7 separate regions of the Homo sapiens genome follow, and all the other regions are linked to region 2. The links are contacts of gene promoters, found by promoter capture Hi-C in blood cells and fetal thymus (Javierre and others, 2016). All regions are on one chromosome and are shown on one strand. Each heading gives the region's core, a stretch centred on a gene start or on the middle of the fragment in contact. The rest is flanking DNA. Distances are from core to core; before and after follow the strand shown.

What was found. Contacts are between HindIII fragments. The CHiCAGO score rates a contact against its expected background, and 5 or more counts as called.
Region 1: a fragment that was not itself captured here is called in contact with the fragment with the promoter of SEC23A in region 2 in 11 of 17 cell types (total B cells, non-activated CD4 T cells, total CD4 T cells and 8 more); the score reaches 25.4 in total B cells.
Region 3: a contact is called between a fragment that was not itself captured here and the fragment with the promoter of SEC23A in region 2, in 4 of 17 cell types (non-activated CD4 T cells, naive B cells, M2 macrophages and 1 more). The highest score is 13.0, in non-activated CD4 T cells.
Region 4: a fragment that was not itself captured here is called in contact with the fragment with the promoter of SEC23A in region 2 in 4 of 17 cell types (total B cells, naive CD8 T cells, activated CD4 T cells and 1 more); the score reaches 10.2 in total B cells.
Region 5: a fragment that was not itself captured here is called in contact with the fragment with the promoter of SEC23A in region 2 in 2 of 17 cell types (total CD8 T cells and non-activated CD4 T cells); the score reaches 5.4 in total CD8 T cells.
Region 6: a contact is called between a fragment that was not itself captured here and the fragment with the promoter of SEC23A in region 2, in 3 of 17 cell types (naive CD8 T cells, total CD4 T cells and naive CD4 T cells). The highest score is 11.7, in naive CD8 T cells.
Region 7: a contact is called between a fragment that was not itself captured here and the fragment with the promoter of SEC23A in region 2, in 3 of 17 cell types (total B cells, non-activated CD4 T cells and M1 macrophages). The highest score is 10.2, in total B cells.

What each region holds. Positions count from the first base shown.
Region 1 is chr14:45,127,198-45,130,584 of GRCh38, reverse strand. FKBP3 (FKBP prolyl isomerase 3) reads left to right here. Exons shown (of 7, transcript NM_002013.4): 3 at 684-791. Among named protein-coding and RNA genes, the nearest start is that of FKBP3, 5.6 kb to the left of the region's middle. The HindIII fragment of the contact is 1,105 bases long and covers 743-1,847 here.
Region 2 is chr14:39,101,534-39,104,713 of GRCh38, reverse strand. It overlaps SEC23A (SEC23 homolog A, COPII component), which reads left to right and starts at 1,479. Exons shown (of 20, transcript NM_006364.4): 1 at 1,479-1,682. It overlaps SEC23A-AS1 (SEC23A antisense RNA 1), which reads right to left and starts at 1,574. Exons shown (of 2, transcript NR_146545.1): 1 at 1,343-1,574; 2 at 902-1,169. RefSeq lists silencers at 1,264-1,493, 1,654-1,773, 1,794-1,873. The HindIII fragment of the contact is 19,881 bases long and covers 1-3,180 here.
Region 3 is chr14:45,240,439-45,243,486 of GRCh38, reverse strand. It overlaps MIS18BP1 (MIS18 binding protein 1), which reads left to right. Exons shown (of 17, transcript NM_018353.5): 3 at 613-726; 4 at 969-1,453. Among named protein-coding and RNA genes, the nearest start is that of MIS18BP1, 11 kb to the left of the region's middle. The HindIII fragment of the contact is 547 bases long and covers 1,402-1,948 here.
Region 4 is chr14:45,168,051-45,171,045 of GRCh38, reverse strand. It overlaps FANCM (FA complementation group M), which reads right to left. Exons shown (of 23, transcript NM_020937.4): 12 at 300-457. Among named protein-coding and RNA genes, the nearest start is that of FANCM, 34 kb to the right of the region's middle. The HindIII fragment of the contact is 559 bases long and covers 1,058-1,616 here.
Region 5 is chr14:45,262,079-45,265,355 of GRCh38, reverse strand. All of the region lies in intron 2 of LOC107984674 (a long non-coding RNA gene), which reads right to left. Among named protein-coding and RNA genes, the nearest start is that of MIS18BP1, 11 kb to the right of the region's middle. The HindIII fragment of the contact is 4,164 bases long and covers 1-3,277 here.
Region 6 is chr14:45,148,573-45,151,845 of GRCh38, reverse strand. FANCM (FA complementation group M) reads right to left here. Exons shown (of 23, transcript NM_020937.4): 4 at 2,851-3,009; 5 at 318-449. Among named protein-coding and RNA genes, the nearest start is that of FANCM, 14 kb to the right of the region's middle. The HindIII fragment of the contact is 2,426 bases long and covers 481-2,906 here.
Region 7 is chr14:45,221,659-45,225,021 of GRCh38, reverse strand. MIS18BP1 (MIS18 binding protein 1) reads left to right here. Exons shown (of 17, transcript NM_018353.5): 11 at 276-1,104. Among named protein-coding and RNA genes, the nearest start is that of MIS18BP1, 30 kb to the left of the region's middle. RefSeq lists an enhancer at 2,083-2,132. The HindIII fragment of the contact is 2,578 bases long and covers 380-2,957 here.

The DNA of each region.
Region 1 (3,387 bases), core at 46-2,545, 6.0 Mb before region 2:
TTTCTGAACTGTTATCATAAGTGGACTAGCTGTCAAATCTAGCAAGGCTAATCTGCAGTATGGCAGAATGTTTCAGTATTTTCAAAGGGTCTGGATTTTGTAGCTTAAATTGAGACAACAAATTCTTAAGTCCACTGAAGTTATAAATTCATTAGGTCAGTGGTATTACCGTATTACTTTAGCATATGGTGTATATTAAATGTATTTTGTTGTTGTTTTATTATATATGTTAAATGTTATATTGAAAATAAGTTTCCATTTCACTAATGAATTTAAAGTCTGGTTTAGATTTAGGCTGAGCTTTACAAAAATACATTTTAAGACATTCTCCCACATTTGTTTACTATGAAATGAATATCTTCCACAGGAAAGAAATCTTTATTTAGGAGTTATTTGAATAGTGCTTATATCTCTGGGTATGAGTTGGCCTTTCTAAGGTCATGGTTCTCATTTCAGAATTTATATTGTAAGCTGGTTTGAGGGTAATCATTTATTGTTTAAAAATAAATTATGAGCAAAATTCTTTCTTTGCTCTTCGTTTCCTTAGACCATTTATTCACAATTGTGTTATACAACCTATATTTATTATGCAGATGTTCATTTAATTGAGAGGCTGAAAATCTTGATGTTGCTTCTTGGTTTTAGCCTGTCCTGGGTATGATGTTACAACATTTTCCTTACAGCGTTTTAAGGGTACTGAAAGTATAAGTAAAGTGTCTGAGCAAGTAAAAAATGTGAAGCTTAATGAAGATAAACCCAAAGAAACCAAGTCTGAAGAGACCCTGGATGAGGTCTGTATATAATTATTTTTTTATTTTATCATGTGGAGTCTAGAAATTGTATTTATTTCTTTATTATTTGCACTAACTTCTCATAGTGAAGGGTGGTTGAATACGACCACTTTCAATGAGCCAAACACTTAATGTAGTGGGCCATTTCCCTTAGGTGTACTGGGACAGAAATAATCCTAAGAACTAGTGCTTTACAGTTATTAGCCTATTCTGTGAAACACTTCTGATATTGTATTTAATATCGCCTCCACATCTGTCCAGACCTTCTGAGCTTTCAAAGCTATTTTAAGGCCTTGATTCTATAGCCAAGTTGGACTAAGTGAAATACATTTTCTTTTGATTATTTTTAGCTTTTTCTAATGTACATGGTGTCCCTGGCAATAGAAATAATCCAGGCTTGGCTGCAGGATGTGGGTTCATCTGTCTCAGTTTTCCCAACTCAGGTTTTATACTTTGGTACAAAGGTTTGAAGAACCAGATTAATTCATTCCTGCAAATTGACAGCCTTAGTAGAGCTAAGATCAGCTACTAAGAACTGACTTAGCAGAGCTGAATTGATTATAATCTTGTCATTTCTGATAATACCTTACTATCTAAGCTCACTCATTGCCAGCAGTCTTAGTATCAGTGATAATAATCTATTTTTAGTTCTTGTAAAGAGGTGAGGCTATTGATGACAGTGTAGCTTTTGGGTATTTGTGGAAAGTGTAAGTTCAGTTATACAATTATAGATGTTTATTTGATTAAAGCTAGTTAATTTTGCATGATCTTTTCCTATTGGCTAAAAAGCACAAATTAATGTTTATAGGTATATGTGCACACAAAGCAGTTTTAAAGTTTATCACAATTAATATTTAATAAATGTTATATCTATTGAGTAGCTACTAAGGTAAATGGAGCAATTATTATTGAAGGGTTTCAGAAGCAACTGGCAACATAGTTCACCCTCCAGGAAATTAGAATGAGGATGGTTTTAGGAGACAGATAATATTTCATTAAGGAGTTAAGAAAATAAAAGGTAAATTCATAAGAGCTAGAGACAATCTAGAGCAAGCTTATGAGGGTCCTAAACTCTATCATTTTATTTAAAACCTCTTCGTTTAACTGGCCAGCTTGAGCCCATTTATGTACTGTGACTGTTTTCCTAGCGTCCTACATTCAAAAGCCTCTTGTCCATTTCCTTGCTAACCCTCGTTGTCTACTCTCTGTCTTCATGCTTTGGGACTGGAGAGCAGGCATTATAAACATATAATCATAAAACCTTTTATTGAGCCTGGTATAAATTCATGCTTAATATTAGCCAAGCATGTTTTCTAGTTTCATTGCTACTCAACAACATTTATACTATCCTTTGCCCAGTTCTCCATCACATTGCTCATTGCTCACATAAAGTATTTGACATTTTCTCACAAATTCTCAGTCCCTTCTTACTCCTTTCTCTTTTTTTGTTTTTGTTTTTGTCTTTGAGACAAAGTCTCACCCAGGCTGGAGTGCAGTGGTGCCATCTTGGTTCACAGCAACCTCCCCCTCCTGGGTTCAAGTGATTCTCCTGCCTCAGCCTCCCCAGTAGCTGGGACTCCAGGCAGGCGCCACCATGCCCAGCTGATTTTTGTATTTTTAATAGAGACGCAGTTTCTCCATGTTGGCTGGGCTGGTCTTGAACTCCTGACCTCAAGTTATCCGCCCACCTAGGCCTTCCAAAGTGTTGGGATTACAGGCGTGAGCCACTGCCCCTGGACTCCCTTCTCATTATATGCTCCTGTGTTCTGTAGTGCCAAAATGTGAATGTCTAGCCATTGCCATTCCCTTCTTCTGAGCTTAAAATTTCTCTGAATCTTTGCGTCCCTTTTTCTTTCTCATGTCTCCTTCAGGACTAATGCTCTCAAACATCTTCCTTTTATTTTAAACGTTCATTCCTTTTCCATTTTCAAGCATTCGAAGCAAGGCCTCATACCCAGAATGTTAAAAACGTTGTTCATTTCTTGCCTCCCTTCTCTTTCTTTATCCAGTCAGCAACAAAATGGGTATTCTAATAAGATTTCTAAAACAATACTTTGCAAACCACACCCTGCTGAAAAATCTTCAGTAATTGAGTGTTGTCTAGAATTGCCCCGTTCAGTATGGTAGTTACTAACAATATGTGGCTACAGAGTGCTTTAGCTACTTTGAACTGAAATGTGCTTTAAGAATAAAATATATACTCAGTTTCAAAGGTGTAATTTAGACGTTTCTTTTTTAAAAAAGAATGTAAAATATCTCAGTATTTTTTATATTGATTACTTATTGAAATGATGGTATTTGGGATGTTTTAGTTTAAATAAGAAAATTTTTCATTTAAAAATTTTTTATTTTATTTTTTTAAGACAGGGTCGGTTGGGAGGCCAGGCATGGTGGCTCATGCCTGTAATCCCAGCACTTTGGGAGGCCGAGGCAGGCGGATCACCTGAGGTTGGGAGTTCGAGACCAGCCTGGCCAACATGGTTAAACCCTGTCTCTACTAAAAATACAAAAAATTAGCCAGATGTGGTGGTGCACACCTGTAATCCCAGCTACTCGGAAGGTTGAGGTGGGAGAATCGCCTGAACCCCAGAGGCGG
Region 2 (3,180 bases), core at 230-2,729:
TTTTGGTGGGTGTACTTATTCCACCTTTATAACAACACCTCTGCTGTGTGCTGTTAAGAATCTTCATTAAGGTAGCACCTTGAACCTACTTTATTTGGAAGCCTACACTAATTTTTGGCTTTCGATTCCCATTGCCCTCTTCAGGATTGTATTACAATTTGACAAGCAAACATCCTCTTCCACCTTCCAAAACAACTTTAGTACACACATTATAGAAAGGGAAATATGTTTGGTGCTTTTTTTTTTGAGACAGTCTCACTCTGTCACCCAGGCTGGAGTGCAATGGCGTGGTCTCGGCTCACTGCAACCTCCGCCTCCCGGGTTCAAGCAATTCTTCTGCCTCATCCTCCCGAGTAGCTGGGACTACAGGAGCGTGCCACCACACCCGGCTAATTTTTGTATTTTTAGTAGAGACGGTGTTTCACTATGTTGGCCAGGCTGGTCTCGAACTCCTTACCTTGTGATCCGCCTGCCTCCGCCTCCCAAAGTGTTGGGATTACAGGCGTGAGCCACCGCGCCCAGCCTGGTGCTGCTGTCTTATTTCTCATGAATATGAGCTTTCAAGGACAGGGACTTGATCTTTTTTTCCATTCCATAAAATGTTGATATGGCTAAACTTTGCAGGCTTTTAGGCGTTGTCATATATGCAATTAATTCCATGGGCACTTAATTTCATTCCCCTCACTGAAGGAAGGGGTTGTCTGAGACCACCAAGCTCTAATGTCTTACCAATCTGTTGCTTTCTCATTTTGTTCAACTTTTTTCTTGGAAAGAAAAACATTGAACATATCAAGATGAATCAGCCAAATATTGTACTGTGTGTGTGTTTTGGGGGTGGGGGGAGACAGAGTTGAAGTGGCAGAGGCAATGTAGGAGGAAAAGACAGGCTGACTAAAATACATAAATAGTACGTGAATTCTTTCGGGCCAGGGATCTGGGCCTACTTTGCCTGCATCATATTACCAGCATCTCAATTGTGTCTGGCACATAGTAAGTTTCAGTAAACATTTGTTGCACTAAGTGAAAGAATGAACTTTTCACTTTTTTCAGAGATGTGATTTGTGATTCTCGGAATCAACCAGGGTCCTAAGATGTCCTGGAGGCCGTCTCCATTTCTCTCGGTGAGCTAAGGTGTCCGAGTGGCACCAGTTCTCCACTCTTTCTGCGACCTGCAGGGAGTGGGATACGCTGTGGCTTTAGGGAGCTGGGAAAGGCGCTCTCTCCCGGTCCCGCTCTGCCCGGTCCCACGCCCCTCGGCCGTCCGGCTGCCTGGGTCTTCCGGGTTCTTCCGCCCCTCTGGCTCGGTCCCCGCTACCTCTCCTCCCTCCTCCCCTCTCGGTACCTTCGCCCGCCGCGCGCCTTTCTCAAATCCTCCGGTTATTAAGCAAGCTCAGGGGTCCGGTGGCCTGCCCTGGTAACTCTGCGCCCGCCCCTTCCTGCCCCCTTCCTGCCCTCACGCCCCGTCCCCTCCTCTTGACGTGGCAGAGGCGGCGCCAGCCATGTTGGCCGGGCGGAGGTCTTCGCTGAGGCCCGGGGCGGGGTGGCGCCACCCCTGATTGCGGTGCCACGGACTGCTCCTGCTGGGCGGAGAGGACAGATTTTGCAAAGCGGAGGCTGCGACGGGTCCTGCAGGGGGACAGTGAGGAAAGGGCCGCCTCGTCTCCGCTCCTGGGGGACCGCAGGTGCGCAGCGGGGAGCGGGGGCGGGCTGGCGGCGGCGGGCTGGGGGCTGGGATCCTGGGGTGGTCCCGGCTCTGCCCTCTCGGTGCCCCGGGGCCAGCGAGGTGTGCTGGAGGCTGAGGCCCGGTCCGGCGCGGGGAGCGTTGAGTGCTGAGCTTGCCACCCTCTCACCCACTTCGCTCTGCCGGGGCCGGGGGCCCGGCCTCCTCCAGCTCCCCTGGATTAGGTGGAAAGATGTGGAAAACGGTGGTTCGAGCATCTCGCCCAGCACCCACCCCCACCTCCTGGGCCACCCACCTCCACCCAAGTCCATCATCGCCTCTGGGCCCTTGGACTTACTGTTTCATTCCTTGCCAGATATGGAGTGTCCTAGACTTTGAACCCAATTGACTACGTCACCGTAATTCAGCCTTGGAAGTTAAAGGGGTTAAAGGGGAAAAGAGCTTGGTAAAGATAATGCCTTGGGTTTTGATTACAAAGAGTTCAGTTTTCCAGCAGGACCAGCCCTATCTCACTGGGCTTTCTTTCTACGGTAGGTAGTGTTTCCCGATTTGGTGGTAAAGGTACTGCCTGAGGAAGGTCATAGTAAATCTACATCAATCACTGAAGTGGGGATGTGGAATTCTCGTTTTCACTTGAACTCCCTCAACCTCTACCGTCCAAAGCCATGGATAACTAGCCAAATTAACTTGGTTTAAAAAGGTTTTAGATTTAAATATAAATGCATGTTGAGTTTTCCTTCTCTTTCTCCTCTGGTAGTGAATGAACATCATTTCAGAAGTCCAGCTATTTTTTTTTTTTCTGAGACGGAGTCTTGCTTTGTCGCCCAGGCTGGAGTGCAGTGGCGCAATCTCGGCTCACTGCAACCTCCGCCTCCCTGGTTCAAGCGATTCTCCTGCTTCAGCCTCCCGAGTAGCTGGGATTACAGGGGCGAGCTACTATGCCCGGCTAATTTTTGTATCTTTAGTAGAGACGGGGTTTCACCATGTTGGCCAGGCTGGTCTCGAACTCCTGACCTCAGGTGATCCGCCCGCCTCGGCCTCCCAAAGTGCTGGGATCACAGGCATGAGCCACTGCGCCCGGCCAGAGTCCAGCTATTTTTAATTGACTTACAGAATTTTAGAGTTAGATGGGACCTTGTGATTTTCTAGTCCAAGTCTCTTATTTTGCTGATGAGAAAAACAGGATTCAGAGAGGTTAATTGTCCAAGATCATAAGAAGACAATTCATTGAGGATTTTGGAAGTGAAAAGTAGGAGACAAATTTAATTGGCAACTAACAAATACATGTAATTGGAAGGAACTCAAATTTACTTGGCAAGTACATTTTCAATTAGATATGAATAAAAGGGCTTAAAATTAGAATATTGAAAAACTATCATAGGGAAAGTCTTTTTTGTTTTTTTTTTTTTTGAGACGGAGTCTCGCTCTGTCACCCAGGCTGGAGTGCAGTGGAACGATTTCGGCTCACTGCAACCTCCGCCTCCCAGGTACAAGCTAAG
Region 3 (3,048 bases), core at 426-2,925, 6.1 Mb before region 2:
AAAAATCTAGGAGGTAAAGCAGAATAAGATGCAAGCAGTGCTATTAGTCCTTATTTATCTAGTTGAGAAACCTACAACTTCTGAGCATTTGAAGGCCTACTAAAAATTGTCTAAAGGATATAAATTATGGCTGAGTCTGCTGTTGCATCTCAACATTTTAATTTTTAAAGAATAAGTTACAATTCTTCGACTATCTTTCATGCTTTAGAAATTCACAGCAACCAGAAACAGAATCGGAATTTTCAAGACTGGGTGAAACTTTATATTGTAATCTTAACATATACATATCCAATTTGTGGCAGCACCAGAATTTCAGATCTCTAGGTTTCTAAGTCCAATACTTTTGTCTAGAGCTGGCGGGTTGTGTTCAGAGAAGGTTTTAAAAAATTCTTCCTCACCGTAATGTTGGTATAGAGAATGGGGTAAAGGTATGAGAAGATAATACAGCCAAAAATATAAAAATATATGTAACTGTCATATATTGCAAAAGTACTATACTGGTCTGATCATTACTAAATCTAAGTGTCTTTATTTCAAGAATTTTAAAAGCTGTTTTTTTCTTAGTGACTAATACAATTCAACTTCTTCTTTCTTTAAAAAATAAAACCTTAGCCTCAGTCCAAGGAGTTCCTCTAGAATCATCAAATAATGATATTTTCCTCCCGGTCAAACAAAAGATTCAGTGCCAGCAGGAAAAGAAAGCACCACTGCACAATTTAACTTACGGTAAACTATTTTTGGTTTGTTTTCAGTTTGTTACTTAAGTATATTGTTAAATGTTCTAGGTAATTACTTTCCTTGTGTGGGCATTAAACTTTAGCTGTGGACAAAAGCTTGAATCGTAAAAGAGACACTCAGAGAAAGACTGGGCAGGAGGGTGGAACGTTCCTAACCTAAATTTATCTCTTTTAATTTCCTGTGATCCTTCTATAATTGTTTTGTTTTGTTTTGTTTTGTATTTTTTGCAGAACTTCCAACTCTGAACCAAGAACAGGAAAATTTTTTGGCTGTAGAAGCCCGAAACAAGACATTAACTAGAGCTCAGTTGGCTAAACAAATTTTTCACTCAAAGGAGAGTATAGTTGCAACCACTAAATCCAAAAAGGACACGTTTGTTTTAGAAAGCGTTGATTCTGCTGATGAACAATTTCAAAATACTAATGCTGAGACTCTCAGTACTAATTGTATTCCTATTAAAAATGGCAGCCTGTTAATGGTTTCTGATAGTGAGAGGACAACAGAAGGGACTTCGCAACAGAAAGTTAAGGAAGGAAATGGAAAAACAGTGCCTGGAGAGACAGGTCTTCCAGGTTCCATGAAAGATACATGTAAAATTGTACTTGCAACACCAAGACTTCATATAACAATACCTCGGAGGTCAAAAAGAAATATTTCAAAGCTTTCTCCTCCAAGAATATTTCAAACTGTTACAAATGGACTTAAAAAAAATCAGGTGGGAAAACTTTTAAGACAGATATTTATTTCTATTTTTACCCCGTTCTTCAAGAGCTTGAGCTTTTAATGTTCTCTCATTATTTTTTTTCTAGCTAGGATTTGAACCTGTATGCTTCATTATTAACAGTGTCTTCATTATCATGTTTTATTATTTACTGCAGTGACAGTGTGACATAGTGAAAAGAACAGTGAGTTGAATGTAAGAAGACCCACATGTTAAGTCTTATTTTGCTCTATTACTAGTTGTGTAGTCTTCAATAATTTACTTGTTCCTTTTGGTGATGAACATTGAATTCATTCCTACTCTTTTTTTTCTGATACTTACAGTACTATTAAAATAGTTAGATTAATTAAGATAGAAAGGAACTGTAGCATCTGAAGATTTGAGAATTTTTCCCAAATTAAATACAGAGTAATCAATGAAAGACTTTAGAGCATTAAACTGTTACATTAGGACAAATTCTCTGAAGGAAGTGGAATGGAAATACAAGCTTAAGGAGGAAGATGCAGTGTAAAATTTCCAATTGTTAGAGGTTTGCCCATTAATTAATTAATTATTTTTGAGCTGGAGTCTTCCTCTGTCACCCAGGCTGGAGCACAATGGCGTGGTCTTGGCTCACTGCAACCTCCACTTCCTGGGTTCAAGCGATTCTCCTACTTCACCCTCCTGAGTAGCTGGGATTACAGGCGCCTGCCACCATGCCCAGCTAATTTTTGTGTTTTTAGTAGAGACGGGGTTTTACCGTGCTGGCCAAGCTGGTCTCTGACTCCTGACCTCAAGTGATCCTCCCGCCTCGGCCTCCCAAAGTGCCGGGATTAGAGGCGTGAGCCACTGCATCCAGCCATTAATTCTTAAATGTATGATGGTGGTTATCAAGTTGAGATCATGTATAAATTCCATCTAAATTTTAATTAATAATTAATTTTTTAAATGAGGCCTTACTCTGTTGCCCAGGCCAGCCTTTTGGGCTCAAGCAATCCTCCCACTTAAGCCTCCCTTGTAGCCATCTAAATTTTAAAGAGTGACATACCAGTTATGGTTTTATATCTCAATATATTCGCTAGAAATCCCATTATTGGAAAATATTTAAACTTTATTTATTTATCTATCTATTTATTTATTTATTTTGGAGACAGAGTCTCACTCTGTCACCCAGGCTGGAGTGCAGTGGCACAATCTCAGCTCATTGCAACCTCCGCCTTCCAGGTTCATGCAAATCTCCTGCCTCAGCCTCCTGAGTGGCTGGGACTACAGGCACATGCTGCCATGCCCGGCTAAATTTTTTTTTTTTTGGATTATTCTCATTAACATATAAACATGTTGAAACATGGCCTGCATTTTTTAAAAACATGCAAACAAAGGCCCATCTTTCCTTTATCCCCTGTCCAACTCCAGCTGCTACACTACTTTTTGTTTCCCTTATATAGCAAGACATTTGAAAGAGGTCTGTGTATTCATGGTTGGAGTTGAGAAGAATATTCTGTGCTGGAAACATATTGGAGAGCTATCAGCATAGAGATGGAATTTAAAACTATGACACTGGAAATACAGCCTAGAGAGTGCGTGTAGGTAGGGAGAAAATTGAGGGGGCA
Region 4 (2,995 bases), core at 88-2,587, 6.1 Mb before region 2:
TATAGAAATGTTTAAATGACAGTAATGAAAGAAAGGCATAATTTATGTAAAAATATCACAGTTGGTTAAATACATATATACAATAAATAATAGAAGAAAATTAGTAGTTTTGTAAACTTAGACTTTAATGATTTCTTACACTGATTACATTCTTAATTTCTTAAAGTAAGTTGACATTCCAATCACAATTATCTCATTATTCCCAAAGCTATTGCTTGATCATTATAAAGAACATCTGAGGGGTTCTGGCATTAAAATGAGGGGGGGGAAAAGAACATCTGAAAATATATTCAACTTACTGGTTTGTTTTCCTCATTTTGTAAAGAAGAAAACTGAACTTGAGGCAATGTTATCTCTTTAATTTCATCACTGTCCCTTAATCTATAAAGTCTGTTCCATAATTTAAATTCTTCTTCTGATAAGAACCAATCTTTCTTTAGGCTACTTTGCCTCATTCCTATAAGTTGAAAAAATAATGGAAAAGAGACTTTTTAAAAATCTGCAAAGCAAAAAAACCCACAATATCCATTCAAACTCTGTCACCCAGGTTGGAGTGCAACAGCACATTCATAACTCACTGTAACCTCAAACTCCTGGGTTCAAGCAATCCTCCTGCCTCAGCCTCCACAGGAGCTGGAATACAGGCTCATGCCACCAGGCCCATCTACTTTTCTTATTTTTTGTAGAGATGAAGTCTTGATATGTTGCCCAGGTTGGTCTCAAACTCCTGGGCTCAACTGATCCTACCTCAGCCTTGATTCTATTCCTTAAAACTAGTATTCTTCATAAAAAACCACTCAGTTTATTACTTCATGCTTCTAAATGTCTCCTAAACTTCTCTTACCTCTGAAAGTACCCATCTGTCTAGGAGCTATCCTTTGGTAATGAATCCATTAACAGAACAGAGCCAGGTACCTTGGCTCTCAGTCCTGGCTTCTTTTGGACTCTTTTCATTTGGTTGCCTAAGACCTGGCATGAAACAGAGTAAGATAACTCACAAATGAAAAACTGGTATTATGATTCTATCATAGCAGTATTGGAAAGTTCATCTGAAGCTTGGTGGGGGTGTTGAGAGTGGGCAGGAAAGGCCAAGACTTTTAAAAGGAGTATGTATCTTAAGTCTTAAATGGGGGTTGGGGCAAAATGAGTAAAGTGTAGGGGGAACAGACTTGTTGCTTTAAAAAAGGACATAATAGACTTTTAAAAATATGTATAGTATATTCATTCTTTTCAGCTTCTATAATCTCTAAGAATCACCAAACTGAAAAGGCTAAATAGTACAAAGCAGTAACTCTGGCTAATACAGATGAGAGCAGAAAAATTGAGACGCTACTGAATTAAAAATCAGGAAACTGGCTGGGTGCAGTGGCTGACACCTCCTCCTTGGGAGGCCGAGGAGGGAGGATCAATTAAGGCCAGGAGTTTGAGTCCAGCCTAGGCAACACAGCTTGACCCCAAGTCTAAAAAAATAAAATAAAATTAGCTGGGCATGGTGTTGCATCCCTGTAGTCCTAGCCACACAGGAGGCTGACAGGAGGATCTCTTAAGCCCAGGAGTTGAGGCTTCATGATGAGCTAGGATCATGTCTCAGGTATTCCAAACTTGTGTAAGAAGCTTTTTAAAAATGTAAAAAATAAAAAATTAAAAATGAAAAAAAAAAAACAAATAAATAAATAAAAGGCTTCTCTGCATCTGTTTCCTCATCTGTAAAATAAGGGGGTTTGAACTAAATGATCTCTCAGGCCCCTTTCAGACCTGACATCCAGAGACTCTAAGATTTCGAAATAGGCAGGTACCCCCAGTCCCTTAAAATAAACTCAGAGTGGCTGGGTACAGTGGCTCATGCCTGTAATCCCAGCACTTTGGGAGGCCTAGGTAGGTGGATCACCTGAAGTCAGGAGTTCAAGACCAGCCTGGCCAACACGGAGAAACCCCGTCTCTACTAAAAACGTAAAAATGAGCCAGGTGTGGTGGCATGTGCCTGTAATCCCAGCTACTTGGGAGGCTGAGGCAGGAGAATTGCTTGAACCTGGGAGGTAGAGGTTGCAGTGAGCCGAGATCATGCCACTGCACTCCAGCCTGGGCGACAACACGAGACTGTCTCAAAAAAATAAAATAAAATAAAAAATAGTCAATTCAGAGCTCTAAGCTCAGATGAATTACATACTAGTGTATATAATATATACTACAAATACACTATATATAATACTACATATACTATATATAGTATATAATATATACTATATATTTTAATATATATAAAATATATACTATGTATAAACACTAGTATATAGTTAGCATACATTAGCAAAATACATAGTAAATACACTAGTATATATTTTATATATTAGTATAAATACACTAGTGTATTTATATACTAGTACAGAATTATAGAATTATTCCATACATAAATCACATAATCTAAGATAAATCTTTGACACTTGAAAAATCAGAGAAAAGGGGAAGAAACAAGTATAGAAAAATGAACATAAGTTAACATTATCTCAATTTTTTAAAAGGATAGGTTCCAGATATTCACTAAAGAATTTGCCATCGACCTCAGTAACATTTTAGAAATAATTATTAAATATAAGATTAATTAGCAACTATAAAAAATATAATGATCACTAAAAATGATTTATCCAACCTAATCAAGTTTTGATGCTTTTATTAATTTATCAAATTCAAGAAAACTCAAAAGACATGCTGTGTTTTTATTTTAACCAAATAATTGGCAAAATCTTGAAAAATGACAGGTATGTTCCTATTAAGTGCATTTGTATTAAGTTTAATAGACATAGCCAAAAAAACATTGATTGACGGCTCTGAGTTAAGGGAAAGAACATTAACAAATCTGAATTGAAAGCAAGTAGTAGGAGGGTAAGAACCTTAAAAATGCATGGTATGACAACAGTGGAACAAACAGTTGAACAAACATAAAAGGTATGGCCTTCAAATATATAGAGAACTGTTATAAAGGTAAACCAAAGATGAA
Region 5 (3,277 bases), core at 460-2,959, 6.2 Mb before region 2:
AGACCTATGTAGCATGCTGCCTACTGGTCGGTCCCTCTTGGATTACAAAGTAAATTCAAAATGATCAAGCCTAAAACTAAACATATCTTCTCAACCCCCGACAAACCCTTCTTCCAGTATTATCTACTTCTCTAAATGGTACCATTATCCACCAAAATGCCCAAATCAGAAACAAGAAGGCTTTCTTTAAAAATTTCTCTCTTCCAAGTCCTACATCAAATTGATCATTTAATTCCGTCAACTCATTCCCTTAACTTCTCTCCAATCTGCCCATCCCCACTTTCAGAGTTTGGGTTAGGCCCTCATCATGTCTCACCATAACAACTACAAAAATTTCTGAGACAGAATTCTCATCTAGAATGCCATCCACTTCTAATCAATTCTCCACACACTGTCAAAGTGATCATTCTAAAACTCAAATGTTGGTGAGAATGTGAACAACCTGGATCACTCACATACTGCTGCTGGTAGGAATGCAAAATGGTACAGCCACTCTGGAAAATAATTTAACAGTTTTTTTAAAACACTAAATACTTCTCACGTTACCCAGAAATTGCCATCCTGGGCATTTATCCCAGAGAAGTGAAACTTAAGTCCACATAAAATCTTATGATTTTTCATAACAGTTATATTTGTAATAGCAAAAAAAAAACTGGAAATAATCAAAATGCCCATCAATAGATGAATGGTTAAACAAATTGTGGGTATATCTGTCAATAAAAGGAAACTATCAAAACTATTGATACACACAACTTGGATACAAGGGCATTATACTAAGTGGGGGGAAAAAGCGCCAATCTCAAAAGGTTACAGGTATAATGATTTTGCTTATACAACTTTCTTTAAATGGCAATATTAGAGATAAAAAAAAAAATGATTAGGGCTGGGCATGGTGGTTCATGCCTGCAATTCCAGCACTTTGTAAGGCCAAGGTGGGGGAGACTTGAGGCCAGAAGTCTGAGACCAGCCTGGGCAACATGGCAAAACCCTGTCTCTACTAAAAATACAAAAATTAGCTGGGCATGGTGGTGCACACCTGTAGTACCAGCTACTTGAGTGGCTGAAGCACGAGAATCACTTGAACCCAGGAGGCGGAGGTTGTAGTGAGTCAAGATAGCTCTGGAGAATAGCCAAAGGTCTACAGCAACCAAGAAAATGCTGAACCAAGAAAGTGGGCAGACCACTTGAGGCTGGGAGTTCCAGACCAGCCCGGACAACATGGCAAAACTCTGTCTCTACCAAAATAAAATACAAAAACTAGCCAGGCACTGTGGCACATGTCTATCATCCCAGTTACTTAGGAAGCTGAGGTCGGGGGGTTAACTTATACTGCGAGGTCAAGGCTGCAGTGATCCATGATTGTGCCAACGCACTCCAGCCTGGGTGACAGAGTGAGACTGTGTCTCAAAAAAAAAAAAAAAAAAAAAGGAGCAACTTACTATCTAAAGCAATCTGCAGATTCCATCAAAATATCAATGACATTCTTCACAGAAATAGAAAAAAAATCCTAAAATTTGTATAGAACCACAAAAAACAAAGCAATCCTGAGCACAAAGTTGGAGGTTTCACACTACCAGACTGTAAAATATACTACAAAGCTGTAATAACCAAAACAGCATGGTACTGGCATAAAAACAGACACATAGACCAATGGAACAGAATAGAGAACCCAGAAATTAATTCACATATCTACAATCTACAATCAACTAATCTTTGACACAGATGCCAAGAACACTCATTGGGAGAAAGGATGGTCTCTTCAATATATGGTCTTGGGAAAACTGCATCTCCATATGCAGAAGAATAAAACTAGACTTCATCTCTCACCCTATACAAAAATCTACTCAAAATGGATCAAATACATAAATGGAAGACCTGAAAATATAAAACTACTAGAAGAAAACATAGGTGAACTGCTTCAGAATATTGGTCTGGGAAAATTTTATAAGCCCTCAAAAGTACAGGCAATAAAAGCAAAAATAAATACATGAGATTATATATAACTAAAAAGCAATCAACAGAATGAAAAGACAAACCAGAAAATGAGAGAAAATATTTGCAAATAACTCATGTGACAAGTGATTAATATCCAGAATATACAAGGAACTCAAACACCTCAATAGCACAAAAATACAATCTGATTTTCAAATGAGTAAATGATCTGAACAGACATTTCTTAAAAGATATATAAAAATGGCAGGCTGGGCACGGTGGCTCACACCTGTAATCCAGCACTTTGGGAGGCCAAGGCAGGTGGATCACTTGAAGCCAGGAGTTCAAAACCAGCCTGGCCAACATGGTGAAACCCAGTCTCTTCTAGGAAAAAATACAAAAATTAGCCGAGCATAGTGACACTCACCTGTAGTCCCAGCCACTTGGGAGGCTGAGGCAGGATAATTGTTTGAACCTGGGAGGTGGAGGCTGCAGTGTGCTGAGATTGTGCAACTGCACTCCAGCCTGGGCAACAGAGCAAGAGCAAGAGTGAGAGAGAAAGAGAGAGAGAGAGAGAGAGAGAGAGAGAGCGCGCCAAGAAACACATGACAAAATGCCCAACATCACTAATCATCAGGGAAATGCAAATAAAAAGCACAATGAGGTTTTATTTCACCCCAGTTAGAACGGCTATCATCAAAAAGACAAAAAAAAGCAGATTCTGGCATGGATGTGGAGGAAAGGGAACTCTTAAAACACTGTTTGTGGAAATGTAAACCAGTAGAGCCACTATTGAAAATACGATGGAGGTTCCTAAAACAACTACAAACAGAAGTACCATATAATCCAGCAGTCCCACTATTGGGCATTTATCCAAATGAAAGGAAATTAGTATATCTAAGAGACAACTGTACTTGCATGTTTGTTACAGCATTATTCACAATAGCCAAGATTTAGAATCCACCTGGGGTTCAACAACAAATGAATGGATAAAGAAAATGTGGTATATACAAATGGAATACTATTAAACTATAAAAAAAGAATGAAATCTTGTCATTTGCAACAACATAGATGGAGCTGGAGGACATTATGTTAAGAAAAATAAGCCAGGAACAAAACATTAAACATCACACGTTCTCACTTATATGTGGAAGCTAAAAAATTTCATCTCATAGAAGTAAAAAGTAGAATACAGGATACTAGAGGCTGGGAATGATAGGGAGAAGGGAGGGATAAGGAGAGATTTGTTAAAGGTTATAAAATTACAGCTAGATAAGAATAAGAAGTTCTAGTTTTCTATATCACTGTAGGATGACAATAGTTACTAAGAATATAATTTCAGGCC
Region 6 (3,273 bases), core at 444-2,943, 6.0 Mb before region 2:
ACCACCCAGGCTCAAGCAATCCTACCCTGCCTCAGGCTCCTGAGTAGGTACATACCACCACACTTGGCTATTTCTTTTACATTTGCAGAGACAGGGCCTCACTATGTTGCCCAGGCTGGTCCTGAACTCCAGGGCTCAAGTGATCCTCCCACCTTGGCCTCCCAAACTGTTAGGATTACAGGCATCAGCCACTGTGTTCGGCCTCATTTTTCAATTATTGATGAGCTAATAGGTACCCAAAATATCATTACCTATGTTTTATCCTGGCTTTCAGTGAAAATTTAATCTGTCATCAAAATTTATTTAAAAATACCTACCACAATATTCGGAGATGGGTTTTTCCTAAACTGATCTCTTGCCAGAATTATCTGATATTTTGTTAGATTTGGGATATCCCTTCTCATCAAAACATTCCTCTGAATCAAAGAACGAGCAAATGATTCCAAAATCTGCAAATTTAAAAGCAATCTAGTTTAAGCTTGCTCTAAAGTCCTTTTTCAAGTACAATCATTTTCTCACATATTAAAATAGGAATTATATATTTAATAAAGTTTGTCTTACAATGAATGTTTAAGTAAACTCAGCAATGATAACATTTAAAACTACTTGACATCTATCCCCAAATAATATCCATATAAAAATCAACATAAGCAATTATTATATACAACTGTAATTTAACAACACATTCGTTTATCTGTTTATTTCTTAACTCCTCTCTCTCTCAACCTACACACACTATAATCTAAGTGTAAGTACCATGAACGAAGACCTTTGATTTCTGCACTGTTACATCCTCAGTATCTAGACCAGTTTGGCACTTAGGTCCTCAGCAGATATTTGTAGAGTAGTTTGTAAAGTACTGAATAAATTGAAATGTCCTGAATATATTTAATTTTACTCACTGATGCATTTTTTTCAACAAATATTTATTAACCATCTACTATGTAACAGGCACTGTTCTAAATGCTGGGGATAGTGTGGCTAAGACTTTATTTGTCACTGCTCTCATATAGTTTACATTCCAATGGAGGGAACCGAAGAATAAAGAAGCGAACAAAGAAAGTAGATCATTTTCATTATAACAAATGCATTTAAGAATCTAAAACACAATAATGCTGTAGAGTCTTTGAGAGGAAAGGGATCATTATTAAATAAGGTGAACAAAGACTCTCTTTGAGAAGAGAACATTTGAGTTCACATGTGAATGATAAGGTATGTCTACCATGTGAGGTTCTAAGGACAAAGGATTCCAGAGAGAGGAGACAGCAAACAAAAAGTCCTGAGGCGGAAATGAGCTTAATGGCACAAAAGGAGACCTATAGATGAAGACCTACTACCGCAGTATGTAAGTGTTTAAATTTTTGCCTAATTTGTATTTTCTAAATTATGGCTAGTTTAATACATTTTTTTTCCTCCCTTCCAACTTTGCTGATCATACTGCCTAATAAGGCACTCTAAAAATACTAACAAAATTAAATTACATTTGTATATGATTATAAGAATTATCATATTTACATTGTTATAAATGGAATGATTTTCAATTAAAAATGCACTAGTATCAAAGAGACAATTACAAAAAGACTTTGCCATATCTTAACTCAATAATGCTTAGAATTTTGTTACAAACAATTTAAAAACAAAAAAGCTGTATTACTACAAAATGTCTCTTTAAGAAAGGCTTACTATAGATTAAGTGACAGATAACTTTTTGGTTATCTATTTCTGTAACCATCTTTAATCCATGGCAATGAAAATGTGAAACCATGTTGTTCAACCATGACACTAATTATGAACTACAGAAAAACAATGTGTTACCACAAATTTCTCCCAGTGAAAATGACAATTGTCTAAGCAGGTCCTTAACAGCTATAATATTGACATTTGAGCCAGATAATTCTTTGTTGTGGGGTTGCTGTCCTATCCATTGTAGGATGTTTAGCTGATTCCTGGCCTCCATATACTAGATGCCAATAATAACTCCACATTTCACCTGTTACCTCCCCCTTCTCTCCTGCCTTTTTGTTGTTGTTGTTGTTGTTGTAAGAACCAAAAATGTGTCAAGTCATTGCCAAATGTTGCCAGGTAGGTGAAGTAATTTCCAGATGAAAAGCACTGCTGCATAAAGATCAGGGAGGACAACAGTGAAAATATATTTCAATACAAAGAAACTTCTGGGGGCCGGGCGCATGGTGGCTTACACCTGTAATCCCAGCACTTTGGGAGGTCGGGGCAGGAAAATCACTTGAGGTCAGGAGTTCAAGACCAGCTTGGCCAACAAGGTGAAACCTCGTCTCTATTCAAAAATATAAAAATTAGCCAGATGTGGTAGCATGTGCCTGTAATCCCAGCTACTTGGGAGGCTAAGGAGAACTGCTTGAACCAGGGAGGTGGAAGCTGCAGTGAGCTGAACAAAAAACAACAAAAAGAAAACAAAGAAACTTCTGGCTGAATCTCAGTACGTGTTCATGTTACGGGTGTGTGCAATTTGTGAAAATTCACTGAGCAATACACTTATGCTTTGTCTACTTTTGCTGTTTGTGTGTGTGTGTGTGTGTGTGTGCATGTTCTATATTCCAGTTATAAGGTTTACTTAAAAAAATACAAAACCATGTAAGGCTATTATTTGCTTTACAAATGGCCCATCTTTTGTATTTTCCCTTTCAATAACAGTTTGCTAGTACATACAAAACACAGTGCTCATTCCAAAAATTTTAACTTCAAAGAATTTTTTCAACATATCAATTATATAAAAATAAGATAACTATATTATCACATCCAAATCCTGTTAGCTGAAATAATTCAATTACCAGTTTATTTATGAAATCCCTAAATGTCATAAAAATGGTTTACCTGGATATAGGTCTTTTGGATGGCTGCAAGTTCTTCACCAAGCGGAACAATAAGCTTTTCAACTTTTCTTTCATGAGAATATGTCAAAATATCTGGAGAATCTTCAGAACGAAGCTCTATCTGCCCAATTAGCAGGTTAGTAATAACTTGTTGCACAGCCTATATGAAATCAATTAAGTATGATTATAAACTACATGTTAAAATTTTTTAGTTTAAGTCACTAACAGAAATAAAATAGCAGTAAAATTTTGAAAGAAGCACCAGAAATTTATATCATTAAGTAACAAAAAAGAAAGAAGATAAGCCTATAAAAAAAGTACATCAGAAGTAGCACAACAGGTGAAAAGTGCTTCCGAAACATCTTTTCCCCACACAGACCTTCAAGCCAAGCATCCGAGAAATAAGAATATTTGTAAATGTCCA
Region 7 (3,363 bases), core at 419-2,918, 6.1 Mb before region 2:
GGAAGGCCAGGCAGAGGAGCTTATTTATATGTCTACTAAAAGACTGTGAGAAGTCACTGTCAGGTTTGTATAAACAATAGTATATGTTTACAGTTGAAGGGGCAGTGGTCTGAATAGACCTGGGCTTCAGAAAGATTAATATGACAGGTGGGTATACAGTGTAGCTCGTGGATAAAAATAGTATCTTTTATTTGTGAAAATATATTTTCTGTGCTTATATTTGTTTATAGCTAATTTGAGATTTTGGTCTTTGGTTTTGTCTTATGAAATTAAAGAGACAACTGAAGAATTGGATGTATCCATTGATATTCTAACCTCAAGGGAACAGTTTTTCTCAGATGAAGAAAGAAAATACATGGCCATCAATCAGAAGAAAGCTTATATTTTAGTAACACCACTTAAATCTAGAAAAGTGATAGAGCAAAGATGCATGAGGTATAATCTGTCCGCTGGCACCATCAAAGCAGTAACAGATTTTGTAATACCAGAGTGTCAAAAAAAAAGTCCCATCAGCAAGTCCATGGGGACTTTAGAAAATACATTTGAAGGTCATAAAAGTAAAAACAAGGAAGATTGCGATGAACGTGACTTACTTACTGTCAACCGGAAAATAAAAATATCTAACCTTGAAAAGGAACAAATGCTCACCTCTGACTTTAAGAAAAATACCAGACTATTACCAAAATTGAAGAAAATAGAAAATCAGGTAGCTATGTCATTTTATAAGCATCAGTCCTCACCAGATTTGTCAAGTGAAGAAAGTGAAACAGAAAAGGAAATTAAAAGGAAAGCTGAAGTTAAGAAAACCAAAGCAGGAAACACCAAAGAAGCAGTGGTTCACCTGAGAAAGAGCACAAGAAACACAAGTAATATTCCAGTGATTTTGGAACCTGAAACTGAAGAAAGTGAAAATGAATTTTATATCAAACAAAAGAAAGCTAGACCTTCCGTCAAAGAAACTCTTCAGAAGTCTGGTGTTAGGAAAGAGTTTCCAATTACTGAGGCAGTAGGATCTGATAAGACAAATAGGCATCCCTTAGAATGCTTACCTGGTTTAATTCAGGATAAGGAATGGAATGAGAAGGAGTTACAGAAACTTCATTGGTAAGTAGTTAGATTTCATTCCGAAATATCTACAGAGCAGCCACAAGACAGTTAAAGACATAAAAATAGCAATAAGGGGTTAACATGGAAGATGTCATTAAAAAAAAGGGAGAAATTATAATTTGCACAGGGAATGGAGATAGACTACACATAACTCCTAGTGGTATTTTTGTGGTCATCTCTAATACGAGGAAAGTACGAGGAAAGCCTAAGTATGAGGAAAGTAAAAGTGACCTTTTCATTCCCATGTAATATTTCAAGATAGCCAAATAGTACTCTCTCACGTAGCTTCATATTTTAAGAAATGCATTTTTTTGTTTTTTGTTTTGTTTTGTTTTGATTGAGACGGAGTCTCGCCCTGCTGCCCCGTCTGGAGTGCAATGCCACAATCCCGGTTACTGCAACCTCTGCCTCCCGGGTTCAAGCGATTCTCCTGCCTCAGCCTCCTGAGTAGCTGGGACTACAGGCGCACGCTGCCACGCCTGGCTAATTTTTATATTTTTAGTAGAGATGAGGTTTCACCATGTTGGTCAGGCTGGTCTTGAACTCCTGACCTAATGATCCGCCCACCTTGGCTTCCCAAAGTGCTGGGATTATAGGCATAAGCCACCGTGCCCGGCCTAACAAGTGTTATAAATAGTAAAGTTTGGTGCCCCACAAGTGAGACTCAAGGATACTAGAAACCTAGAAGTGGGCACTGAAGGGTAACAAAGAGAGTTTAAAGAGGAGCTCTCCAGTTCTGGGTTGAGGAGCAGAAAGGGGGACTTCTGACACTCAGAAACAGTAGAGGAAATCCCCAGTGTTTGGTTTGGTTTGTTTTTGTTTTGTTTTGTTTTGTTTTGTTTTGTTTTTGTCTTTTCTCTTAACTCAGTCCCCATGCAATCCTGCAGGGGCTACAGTCACAGCATCAGCTGGGGCTGAGATATATCTAAAACTCTGAGAGATGAGAACCTTCTCTACAATTAGGAATGGTTGCCTCAAAGTAGTGGGGCAAGTACCTGTTGCTTCTGTTCTCTTTCTGTTGTCTGTTGCTTGGTACTGGACAAAAATTCAGTTGTGTGAGGCATACAGCAGAGCAGAGTAATAAAAGCCCCAGCTTTCTGGCCAGAGCACTGACAAGGGAAACTCCAGGGAACCAGAAATCGCGGAAAGAGAGGAAGTAGGAAAAGCAACCCCATAAAGTTGTTTATGAACTTCTATGCCACCCAGGAGTTGTACATATGTGGACATGGTCCTAAAGAGCATATAAAAGACTGAGAACTGAACTAAACAGTAGACCACACCCAGTTTCTAGGCTAGCTACTCAGTGTCCCACACACAGGAAGATCCTAACAGCACTGCAGAGCTTTGAAAAATGAAACTGACATTGAAACAACAATGATAGTAGACTGAACGTATAGCTTGGGATACCACCAGGTTGATGACCTGCTAAAATAAAAATATTAACATTTCACTTGAAGCAGTAAAATATTGATTCTAAGTAGACTGTTGAAGTTAAGTATATTTAATGTCATCCCTAGAGCAACTTCTAAAAAAACTATACAAAGAAATAATTTCAAACATAAATTAAAATACTGGAAAATCAAATAGCCCAAAAGAAGGCAAAGAAGAAGAGAAGTGGAGGATTTTTTTACATGGAACAAGCAGAAAACAAATAATAAAATTATTGACCTAAATCCAACATAATTAAATTAAATGGTCTAAACATACCAATTAAAAGACATATTGTCAGAATGAATTTAAAAACATGATCTAACTATATGCTGTATACAACAAACTCACTTTAAATATAATGATATAGGTAGGTTAAAAGGATAGAAAAATACCGTCTAAACACAAATCAAAAGAAAGCTTGAGTGGCTATATTAATATCTGTCAAAATAGACTTTAGTAGGAAGAAAATAACCAGGAATAAAGAAAGACATTACAAATGATAGAAGGGTCAGTCACCAGGAAGGCATGAAATTCCTAAGTGTGTATGCACCTGACAATAAAACCTCAAAATACATGAGTTAAAAACTGACAAGTGAAAGCAGCGGACTAAACTACAAGGATAGTCAAATCCACAGTTATAGGAAACCACACTGCTCCTCTCTTGGTATTTGATAGAACTGACTGAAAATTAGCAGGGATATAGAACTGAACAACACCATCAGTCATTCGTATGATTCACATTTACAGAACATTCCACCCAATAATAAGAAAAAGAATAGGTTATTTCCAAGGATAGGTTGATCATTCATCAAGATAGATCATAAA